Regions from separate parts of the Homo sapiens genome. Here all the other regions are linked to region 1. Evidence: promoter capture Hi-C in 16 types of primary human blood cells and fetal thymus (Javierre and others, 2016). All regions are on one chromosome and are shown on one strand. The core of a region is centred on a gene start or on the middle of the fragment in contact, and the rest is flanking DNA. Distances in the headings are between cores, read along the strand shown. Region 1 holds the start of NAT9 (N-acetyltransferase 9). Region 2 has its middle 18 kb from the start of CD300E. Region 3 has its middle 4.0 kb from the start of CD300H.

The links. Contacts are between HindIII fragments. The CHiCAGO score rates a contact against its expected background, and 5 or more counts as called.
Region 2: a fragment that was not itself captured here is called in contact with the fragment with the promoter of NAT9 in region 1 in 5 of 17 cell types (naive B cells, monocytes, total B cells and 2 more); the score reaches 7.7 in naive B cells.
Region 3: a fragment that was not itself captured here is called in contact with the fragment with the promoter of NAT9 in region 1 in 2 of 17 cell types (M1 macrophages and monocytes); the score reaches 6.8 in M1 macrophages.

What each region holds. Positions count from the first base shown.
Region 1 is chr17:74,774,476-74,778,455 of GRCh38, reverse strand. NAT9 (N-acetyltransferase 9) reads left to right here and starts at 2,111. Exons shown (of 7, transcript NM_015654.5): 1 at 2,111-2,189; 2 at 2,749-2,834. The coding sequence starts at 2,758. SLC38A12 (solute carrier family 38 member 12) reads right to left here and starts at 1,957. Exons shown (of 10, transcript NM_017728.4): 1 at 1,879-1,957; 2 at 1,081-1,192. The coding sequence starts at 1,125. RefSeq lists an enhancer at 2,310-2,429. The HindIII fragment of the contact is 5,812 bases long and covers 1-3,980 here.
Region 2 is chr17:74,640,126-74,643,753 of GRCh38, reverse strand. No RefSeq gene overlaps it. Among named protein-coding and RNA genes, the nearest start is that of CD300E, 18 kb to the right of the region's middle. The HindIII fragment of the contact is 7,428 bases long and covers 1-3,628 here.
Region 3 is chr17:74,569,706-74,573,290 of GRCh38, reverse strand. No RefSeq gene overlaps it. Among named protein-coding and RNA genes, the nearest start is that of CD300H, 4.0 kb to the right of the region's middle. RefSeq lists an enhancer at 2,975-3,585. The HindIII fragment of the contact is 3,432 bases long and covers 173-3,585 here.

The DNA of each region.
Region 1 (3,980 bases), core at 862-3,361:
AACAGACCAGAGATCCCCAGGCTAGGAAGCTATGTACAAGGCAGGGCAGCTGTTGAAGGCAGGTCAAGTTCTAGAAAACTCTTGCTACTTAGGGCAGTGCTGCTTTTGCCTGGGAGGGTTGGTAGCAACCTGAGTCAACCATCTGATTATTCCAACCCTCTGGCTACTTATCCAGGCAAGAGGGCCCTGTGATGTAACAACTATGACCAATCATACGTTACATAGAGAAGATAAACTGCGTGTGTGTTGGGGGCAGCCAGAGGTAACACAGACCTAAGACAGTGAGAATCAATCATTCTAATTGTTCTAATTGCAGAGTCCACCAAACTGTAATTAGAAGTCTCTGTATGCTTTCGCTGCTTCTTACGCCATCCAAGACTATAAAAGTTGTGCAATTTAAAATTCAGTAAAGACCAAAGCGGTTTCCAACTGCTGAGATGAGCAAAACCCAGAGTCAACAGCTGTCAATCACTGTTCATCTGAAGGGCAGCACTGCAGGCAAGTGTGGTAGCCTGGAGATGAACATTATTTCTTTATTTTTGAGACAGAGTTTCGCTCTTTTTGCCCAGGCTGGAGTGCAACGGCTCGATCTCAGCTCACTGCAACGTCCGCCTCCCGGGTTCAAGCGATTCTCCTGCCTCAGCCTCCCGAGTAGCTGGGATTACAGTGCCACCATGCCCGGCTAATTTTGTATTTTTAGTAGAGACAGGGTTTTACCATGTTGGCCAGGCTGGTCTTGAACTCCTGACCTCAGGTGATCTGCCCGCTTCAGCCTCCCAAAGTGCTGGGATTACAGGCGTGAGCCACCGTGCCCAGCCCGGGATTAACATTATAAACAGCATGGCGATTTTGTTTGGCTTGACCACTCTGACAAACACCTTAAAAAGAGAATAAATCTGACTTACATTCTGAGCCACCACAGCAGCACTGTAGTCGCTGCCCCATGGAACTCCCCCATCCTGCTTCCACTATGGTCTGCTCAAGCAGCAGCACTCACTAGTCCCATCTCCAGCAAGCAATGTGCTTTTCTAGAAGCCAGGAACACTTAAGTGAGCAAAAGGTTCTATAAGTCACACTCACGTAGGAAGAGTAGAGTTCCCCGGTCTCTGTAATTTCACCCGCCATTTCCAAAAGTGAGGAAGGGCTGGCAGCAGAGGTTCCTTAGGTGCAAGGACGGCGGCTGCCGCAGCTCCTTAAAACAAAAGAGCAGGCTTCACCTATCTGATGGACTGAGACAGGGGTGGGAGGAGGCTTGCAGACTTCCCCTGCCACCTCTGGTTCTTTTATCACAGACACTTAGGGCCTCAGTATCTGTCACAAGACTCACCCCCGAGGGAGGGGTCACCCTGGATGACAGAAATCTGGACGGTTTCTTCTAACATTTCCCTTGCTGTGCAGGGCACTGCTCTGTGCCCAGCACGGATGTTTTCAATGCTGCTCGGGGTGCAAGTGATTTAAGGGGCCTCTAAAACCACTAAGTCTCACCCACCACAAGAGCCCCCTTTCCACGCTCTGGGGTGGTTATCCTCGTTTAGTTCCAGGAACCAGGAGCTCACTACCACACATGGGAGCCCAAGGAACTGTCTGCCGCCTCTGCCTAGGGCAGGGAGCTGGGGGCTTTCCTACATTGCCCTTCCAACTCCACTCTTGGCACTAAGGCCTCCTTTTTTTAATGGGGCCTCCACTCCCTGGCCCCACCTACTCTCTTAGGGTTCCCCACCCTCAAAGCTCCCTCTTTTCTCAAGAACCCCACTCCCAGCCTCTCCCTCTCTCTCCCTCCTGGAGGAGTCCCGAGTCTAGTGCCGCCCCGCCCCGCCCCAACCTATCCCGACCCGTCTCGTCCTCTCCCGCCCGTCCCGACCCGACCCGACCCAACACCTGCAGCACAGCCAGCTCCCAAGCCGCCGTCTCCCGCCGGTCCGCTGCTGCCGGCGCCAGCTGTCCAGCACCAGCTTCCGCAGCGCGCATGCGCCGGCCCCACAGCCCACCTTTTTCGCGCGCGCTGATTGGGCGCCTCGCGGGGGCGGGACCGGGATTGGGGCCTGGCGGCTGCCGTCAGCATGGCGGAAGTGGGCGGGGCGCGTTCTCACGCGCATGCGGAAGGGGCGGTAGCCGGCCGGGCCTGGGAACGTGGCTGGTTGGAGGAGGTAGATCACCCTTTCTGCGGGGGACGATTTCGTCGGTGGTAGGTGGGTGTGAGCTTGGCAGTACCCGGGTCCGCGTGGTTGGAGGGTCGAAGAGAGTGGTCTAGAACGCCACTCAAAGGGGAGGGCCTAAGACTAAGCCCGCCTTGCCCTGAAGTGGTCGGGGGCGGGGAGGGAGTGGCTAGAGCCCCGTGGGGTGGTCGCCGGGGTAAGAGGTTGGAAGTAGGTTTAAGGCAGGGCTGAAAGTTGATTCTGGGTTGGAATCCCTGGACTGGGGCAAGTAATGGGAGCTCTGGGGATACTTTGGTACTTGGTACTTGGTGCTTGGGTTTGAGGAATCGAAGTTCTGGGGAGTGGACGGAAGGAACCGGCAGAAACGGAGCCCAGGCTTGGCCTCTTGGAGTGGGAGTCAAGGATTGTTTAATTATCCTTAACCAGCCTGGTTCTCTTTCTTGCAAGAATTTTGGAGTCTGTATTCTTTGAAGTGTCTAGACGGAACTAATGACGGAAGTCAACTTAGCCCCAGCAGGAAAGCTGGAGCGCCTACCCAAAGTTGGAGGAAATTCAGGGTCCTGAAGTCTTTGCTCTCCCCATCTGCATGCAGGCTGCTACCATGAGGTTGAATCAGAACACCTTGCTGCTGGGGAAGAAGGTGGTCCTTGTACCCTACACCTCGGAGCATGTGCCCAGGTATCTTTCCCGCTTGACATGGGGTGCGTATCAGCACCCAGAGCTGTGTAAGGTACAGCCCCAGTCTCAGGGCTATTTCCCCTAAGAAGAAACATTGGTTGTGAGAAATAATTATATATGAGGGGGGAAAAAAGGCTGGGTGCCGTGGCTCACGCCTGTAATTCCAGGACTTTGGGAGGCTGTGGCAGGAGGATTGCTTGAGCCCAGCAGTTCGAGACCAGCTTGGGTAACGTAGCGAGACCTTGTCTCTACAAAAAAATACAAAAATTAGCCAGGCATGGTGGTGCACAGCTGCAGTCCCAGCTACTAGGGAGGCTGAGGTGGGAGGATTGCCTGAGCCCAGGAGATGAAGACTGCTGTGAGCTGTGATTGTACCACTGTACTCCAGCCTGGGTGACAGAGCAAGAACCTGTCTCAAAAAAAAACAAAAAAAACAAAAAAACAAAAACAAACAAAAACAAAAAAACGGCCGGGTGCGGTGGCTCACGCCTGTAATCCCAGCACTTTGGGAGGCTGAGGCGGGTGGATCATGAGGTCAGTAGTTCAAGACCAGCCTGGCCAACATGATAAAACGCCATCTCTACTAAAAACACAAAAAATTAGCTGGGCTTGTTGCCCGGCACCTGTAATTCCAGCTACTTGGGAGGCTGAGGCAGGAGAATCACTTGAACCAGGGAGGTGGAGGTTGTGGTGAGCCGAGATCACACCACTGTACTCCAGCCTGGGCAACAGAGTGAGACTTTGTCTCAAAAATAAAATAAAATAAAATAAAGGCTGGGCGCAGTGGCTCACGCCTGTAATCCCAGCACTTTGGGAGACCGAGGCAGGCGGATCACAAGCTCAGGAGAGCGAGACCATCCTGGCTAACATGGTGAAACCCCGTCTCTACTAAAAATACAAAAAAATTAGCCGGATGTGGTGGCGGGCGCCTGTAGTCCCAGCTACTCGGGAGGCTGAGGCAGGAGAATGTGTGAACCCGGGAGGCGGAGCTTACAGTGAGCCGAGATCGCGCCACTGCACTCCAGCCTGGGTGACAGATCGAGACTCCGTCTCAAAAAAAAAAAAAAAAAGAGACCAGCCTGATCAACGTGGAGAAACCCCGTCTCTAATAAAAATACAAAAAAAATAGCTGGGCATGGTGGCACA
Region 2 (3,628 bases), core at 762-3,261, 130 kb after region 1:
TCTTACCTGCATATAGCATCAAAACCTCCTTCTTTATTTTGAAATAATTTTAGATAATTTAGTATCTTATAGTTTGTAAGAATCTTTCTTTCTTTCTTTCTTCTTTCTTTCTTTCTTTCTTCTTTCTTTCTTTCTTTCTTTCTTTCTTTCTTTCTTTCTTTCTTTCTTCTTTCTTTTTCTTTTTTTTTGGAGACAGAGTCTTGCTCTGTCACCCAGGTTGGAGTAGAGTGGCGCAATCTTGGCTCACTGCAACCTCCATCTCCTGGGTTCAAGCCTCCTGAGTAGCTGGGATTACAGGCACGCACCACCACACCTGGCTAATTTTTGGGTTTTTAGTAGAGACAGGGTTTCACCATATTGGCCAGGTTGGTCTCAAACTCCTGGTCTCAAGTGATCCACTCGCCTTGGCCTCCCAAAATGTTAGGATTACAGACATGAGCAACCACACCTGGCTGCAAGGTTGCTGAGTGGACGGACATTCACTCATTCATCTCTTCACACAGCATGCATTTACTGAGCACCCGCGGTGAGCTGGTCACTGTACTTACTGCTGGGATATGAAGATGAGTCAGACACCGCACCTGCTCTGGAGTGGGGGTTTCTATTCTTATTGGAGAGGGGAACATAGATAACCTCACTCTGGCTTCTGGTTGGGCTCAGGTTGTCAATGGAGGAAAATGACTGAGGCAAGTCTCAATCATTTTAGGAAGTTTATTTGCCAAAGTTAAGGAAACGCGCCTGGGAGACAGGTCTATACCTTTCTCTGAAGATGATTTTGGGGGCTTCAATATTTAAAAGGGAAAGGGTGGGATATTGAGAAATACACAATTTTCTTGTGAGAGGGGAGGTGGGGAAAATAGCCATTCAGGCCTTTGTCTGGCTCAGTGAATCTGCATTTTTACCTAAGATAACGTAAACAACAGGGCAGAGGAAACAGTCAGATATGCGTTTGTCTCAGGTGGGCAGAGGAATGACTTTGAGTTCTGTCCTGTGTCTCGCACCTGTGAAGATAAGCTATCAGTTTACATTGGCATGGGGAAATTTAACAGAAACGCTTTAAAGACCACAATGTGAGGGAGGTTGGTAGCCTGTCATCCTTGTCACCATCTCATTTAGGAACCAACATGGGAGGTAGGTTTGCATGACCCAGTTCCCTGCTTGACTTTTTCCTTTGGCTTAGTGAGTTTGGGGTCCCAAGATTTATTTTCTTTCCAAGGAATGGCAATGGGTGGTGCCAGCAGGAGAAAGGAAGGTGAGAGTTTCTCCTGCCCAGGTGCCACCCTGCTGGGCTGGAGTGTCCGTTTTCCTACTTTGAGGTCACAGCCCCTGTGGCATGGTCCTGTCCTACAGTTCCTGTGGGTTCTGGTTATTTCTGACACCTCTCCCTGTGTTAGAGGTGTCGTGGCCCTACTGCTGTTGCTAGTCCTGTTTTTTCTCCATCTCTTGTTGATTTCACTTAACTCTTTCCTTCTCTTTGTAAATTTCCCCTGCATTAGATTATTCTGTTATACCAACTGAGCCTGCCATTGGCCCACTCCCAGGATCCTGACAGAATCATGATCTCTCCTTCTTCTTTGTATACACAGCGCCTTTACTTAGTAGACGCTCATTAAGTGACTGTCCAATTAATAATAATGTAACATGTTAGGGGCTGTGTCAGCAATTTTTGGGTAAGATTTGCCCTCTGAACATCCAACTCCCTGTTTTGATGTCAGATAAATCTGCTGGATTAGTATATTTGAAGACACAATGATACATAAAAATGTGACTTAACTTGTCTGTTTTTGGAAGTTGTAGGCTCTTGAGAAACTGGGTGGGTGCCCTGTGATGCTAATTATTATGAGAATTAAAGCCACAAAGTTTCTGTTGTGATTAGTAGTTTTCCTGTCTCCAGCTTCTGCTTTTTCTGAACAGCTCTACGTATAAACATTGATGCAATGGGAAAACAACAAAACTGAGGTGTAGAAAAGAGAGACGCAAGGGAGTAGTAAGAAACATGAAAGCCAGTTTCAGTCCAGCTGACAGAAGCTCCCCAAATGTTGGCAGATGAGGCAGAGAGAGCAAAGAGACACAGTGACACATCTGCCCCTCCTGGACATCCTGGGTCCGGGGAGTGGGGTGGGGGAGGCTGGTGGGAGCATGAGGAACAGCAGGCCTAGTGGCTGGGGAAGGGGAGGTGGGTGGGGCTGGGGTGCACTGGGGAGAGGATGAGGGAATCAGAGGGATGACTAGAGTTTCAGGCTCCAGCCTCAGATGGGTGGGCTCTGCTGATAACAAACAGAGGCCCAAGGAAAGCGACTAAGCCAGGCCTGGTAGTCCAGAGGGCACAGAGGCAACCCAGGGTGTAGTGGGGAGCCCCTCCAGGGCCAGGCGAAGTCTTGCTCAGCATGAGGTCTGCAGCTGCAAACACAAAGTAGGACTCACACTTAGCAGGGCCTCCATATGCGGCAGCAGAATGCACAAATGGATTTGAGTTGTTCTGAACATTAGAGAAGCCCAGTGGGGAAAGGAATGCAGGGTCTGGGTCAGGTGCGGTGGCTCACGCCTGTAATCCCAGAGCTTTGGGAGGCTGAGGTGGGTGGACCACCTGAGGTCAGGAGAGGAGCGCCGTGTACCATCAAGACAGCCCTGGCAAATGCTTTTTCACAGTGGTCACAAAGAACCCCAGCAAGGAAGATGTGGCTGTGTGCTGGTGTGCAAAGAGAGATGTTTTTATGCACCCAGGGGACATGGGATGATTGCTGTTTTGTCACATGGGAGTGTCCTGTAACCCCCACCCTCCTTCCCAAAGAGCACAGACTGTGTCTGACAGCTGGTATGTGTGTGCACGTGCGCACATGTGTGCTTGCACACCTTCTGCAGGCTCCTCCTCTGTTCTAGCATCAGAGTCATATCTCTCTCATCTGTTTCTTTTTTCTTTTTCTTTTTTTTGAGTTGGAGTTTTGCTCTTGTCACCCAGGCTGGAGTGCAATGGCACGATCTTGGCTCACTGCAACTTCCTCCTCTCGGGTTCAAGGGATTCTCCTGCCTCAGCCTCCCAAGTAGCTGGGATTACAGGTACCCACCACCAATGCCCAGCTAACTTTTGTATTTTTAGTAGAGACAGGGTTTCACCATGTTGACCAGGCTGGTCTCCAACTCTTGGCCTCATGTGATCCACCCGCCTTGGCCTCCCAAAGTGCTGGGATTACAGGTGTGAGCCACCGCGCCCTGCCAGGGTGGGGGGTCCTAGCTAGGAATACATAGAAAGACTCTGGAGATTCTTTTAATAGGATATGCGAAACTCAGTGTATGTGTGTGTTTTCCTAGGGCATGGGTGTATAGCTTTTGTTACAATCTCAAGTGTATCTGTGACCTCAGCTCCCCGAAGTTAAGAACACAGGGGACTCTCTCTCGCCTTGAATCCTCCAGAATTCGCTCACCAGCCCTGTCTGGTGTGGATATGAAGGTGAAGGAGAGGCCTCGGAGGCTTAGGGCGGGACCCATGGGCTCCTAACAGTGGCATTGCTCATCTCTAATGTTCCAGGTCTTTTCTGGAGAGCCCTCTCTCCTATTCTAGGCTCTGCTTAGCACCGTCAACGTTGCATCCCTTAGTAGCCTGAAATAAAGGGGAGAGAAGCAAATGAAA
Region 3 (3,585 bases), core at 639-3,138, 200 kb after region 1:
ATGTGGGTTTCCTTTATCTTAGTTAATAACAACCTTATTGCTGGGATTGGATCCTTCCAAGAGTATGTATCCACTCAGGTCTAGTGCCCATTCTAGGTGGGCACTAGAAGGTATGCAGAGAATTAGGTGCTTATAATATTGTGGAAAGGGCCGAAGAAGCAGCTCCTAAGCTTGTCCCTCCCTCCTCCCTCACATCCAGAACAGCCTGCTTTTGAGGCCCCTAGGGTCAAACAGGGAGCATGAAGTCTTGGTATCTGCCAAGCAACTGCCTTCCACATCCAGGAAGCTAGAGAATAATTTTATGAAGCTGCAATCCAAGGAATCTTCCTAATGGAAGTCAGATGAAGAAGTTGTCACTGCCCTCACTGCTTCTTGTCACCCAGGAAGCTAGAAAACATATCCTGGAACTCTGCTTCATGAAAGTCTCCTGTTTCTTCTAATCCTTGTTTGCCAACAGCAGTGGCTAAGAGCTGTGGAAGATAACCTCTGTCTAACTGGGCCTTTCAAATGGCCTCAGAGACACCTCAGTTGGTGGAATCCAGTTGTCATCCAAATCCCTGATTTCCAAATGAGGAAAGTGACAAGAAGCCTCACTGTTTCTGCAAAGGTCTTGCCCCAGACAGGGCTCCTCCAGGGAGAAGGAGCACAGGTGACTCATGCTGAAAAGCCAGAACGGTGAAGCATTGGGACAGACACCAGGACGTTGTCTCAGTCAGCTCAGGCTGCTGTAACAAAATACCATAAACCGAGTGGTTTATAAACAAGGGACCTTTATTTATTATAGTTCTGAAGGCTGGGAAGTCAAGATCAAGATGTTGGTAGATTTGGTGTTTGGTGAGGACTCTCTTCTTGACTTGCAGATGGCTGCCATCTTTCTGTATCCTCGTATGGCAGAGAGAGTGCTATGGTCTGAGTGTTTGTGTTTCTCCAGAATTCATGTGTTGAAACTTATTCCCAGTGTGTTGGTATTAGGAGGTGGATCCTTGGGGATAATTCAGTTGTGGGGGTGTAACCCTTATGAACAGGATTAGTACCCTTGTAAAAGAGACCCCAGAGAGCTGTCTTGCCCCTTCCACCATGTGAAGACACAGCAAAAAAAAGTACTCTTTATGAACCAGAAGGTGAGTGCGCAACAGACACTGAATCTGCTAGCACTTTGATCTTGGACTTTCCAGCCTCCACAACTGTGAGTAATGCATTTCTGTTGTTCATAACCCACCCAGTCTATGGTATTTTAAAATAGCAGCCTAAATGGACTAAGAAAGAAAGTGAGATCTCTCTTCTTCTTCTGATAAGGGCACTAATCCCACAATGAAGGCCTGATCCTCATGACCTCATCTAACCCTAATTACCTCCCACAGGCTCATTTCCTAATATCACCACATTACGGGTTAGGGCTTCCACATATGAATTTTTGGGGGAACTCATCAATCCATAGCAGACACCCAGAAGCAGACTTTGTTGTGTTGTTAATTTCCCCTGAAGATACTTCCTGCTATTCTGCAAACAGATATTGAATGAAATAAGACTTGGAGGCCTCTTCCACTTGCCATCTCTCAACCCATCTCACCCCTGCCTGAGTGTTGCAATCCGTACCTTGCATCATGAGAGCCAGAGGTGGGACCCCACCGAAGACCTGGGTTCAAATCCTGACCTCCCCACTTCCCATCATGACAGTTTAGTTCGTCTTTCCAGCTCCAGTCATCTTATTTAAAAGTGACCTGGCAGGGGTGTTGGGATGGGTATGCAGGATTTAAATATACAGAGTGCATGGTACGTAGAAGATCAAAAGAGGAAAGTTTCCCAGAGGGATGCCACCACCTTCAAATGCCTTTGCTCAACTCCTGGGACTGAGCAGGGTGAATATTTTTATTCCTATTTCACAGATGAGGAGACTGATGCTAAGAGACTTTTGCTGATTTGCCTAAAGTCATATAACTAGTGAACAGCAGACCTTAAAATCTGAGCCAGGGCTCCCAGCTTATGGCCAGAACCTTCCTCACTGTGCTACATGGCCCACATCATCAGAGTCAGGTAGAGACCCTCTCTGAGCCGGGCTCCCTATAGCACCCCAGCCCCCATGTTGGGAAGACCCTCCCCACACCCTGCTCCCTAGAGAGCCCTGTATTTGTAACAAGATCCCAAAGAGGCATCCATTGCCCAGAGCCGGTCAGGAGGCTGCCCTCTTGGTGACGTCTCCCTTGAGTGCCAGTGGGGAGGGAAGAAAGTGGGCAGTGGGGTCCACCATCCTTGGGCACTTGCCCATTCTCACCATGATGCACAAGATACTGAGAACTACTCCCCAAATGGATTGACGTCGGGTAGTAGAGGTGAGAGAAGAGAGGCCCAATGCCTTAATACATTCCTGATCCCCTCCCCTGGAAAATATGGAAGGATCGGAGCTCTCACCCTCCAATTCAGCTCACAAGGCTGGGGCCGAGCTCTGTCTGCGTCTCCGGGTGCCCAGATTGGTCCTGCCTTTGTGGAGGCTACAGCCTCACCTGGAAATGGATGCCATGCAACAGGACAATGACAGCACAGGGACATGAGATTAAATACAGAAATAAGCATTGCAGGTAACAGGAACCCCAGAGGGAGGGGTCTGGAAGGCCTGGAGCAGGCAGGGATGCCTTCCAGGAGAGGTGTGGTCTGAGCTCATCCTGGGAGAGTGAGAAGGGAGGATGACGGTTTTCGAGGAAGCAGAAAGACAAGCACAGCCCCGAAAGGCAGAGAGAAATGTGTGGGCTACTCACACTGTCCTACACATCACATGCCCCGAGTTTGCCCTAAGAACGCACCCCTCACTGATGAGATCTTAACTTTCTGGAAGCCCCAAGAGCTGTCCCTCAAGGGCAGCGATGGTGGGGGTCTCAGTGTGGTGCAGTGCCAGGCAGGGCCCCGGGCTCCCCGCCCTCCTGTGCCTCATGGCCAGTGTTCATTATTCTCAGTCCTCCCCTAGCTCTGCCCTCCTGGAGCGGACAGCATTTTCCAGGACAGGTTTCAGAGACAGAAGGACAAGGGCCTGCTGGGGAAGGGACAGCGGCTCCAGATGCTGGCCTTGACATGGAAAAAGCCTGGATGTCCCAGATGTGGGTCATCTCTTCAAGGAATTTGTCATCTCCTGGGGGACTCCAGGGCCCAGAGTACATCTGCTTCAAAGGTGGGTTCCCTGTGGCATTGCCATGTCCTTTGCATTTGGCAAACTGTCTGGTCCTAGCTAAAAAAATGAAACACACACAGGCTGTTTCTAAGCAGACCCTGCAGCCTCTCCCTGCCCCGACCTTGGATGAGCGAGAAGCACGGAGTCGGTGTGCTGCGGGGCACCCTTCCAGCCCGGTTAGGGAACCTCCAGTAGTGGGTTCTGTGGTTGTGGTCAGTGACTTGCCGCCTTGTCCTGTAAGAGGACTGTGCTTCTCCTTCCCACTGACTTCAGGCTTGACCCTATGACGATGAACGGTGAGCAGGAGCCGCATGTGCGCCTTCTGAGCAGAGGCTCAGAGAGCCACCCGGTGCCTTCCCTCTCCTCTAGCGGACTGGGCTCCGCAGCCTGGTGCCCAAGCAATGCTGACTCACCGCTTGCGTATA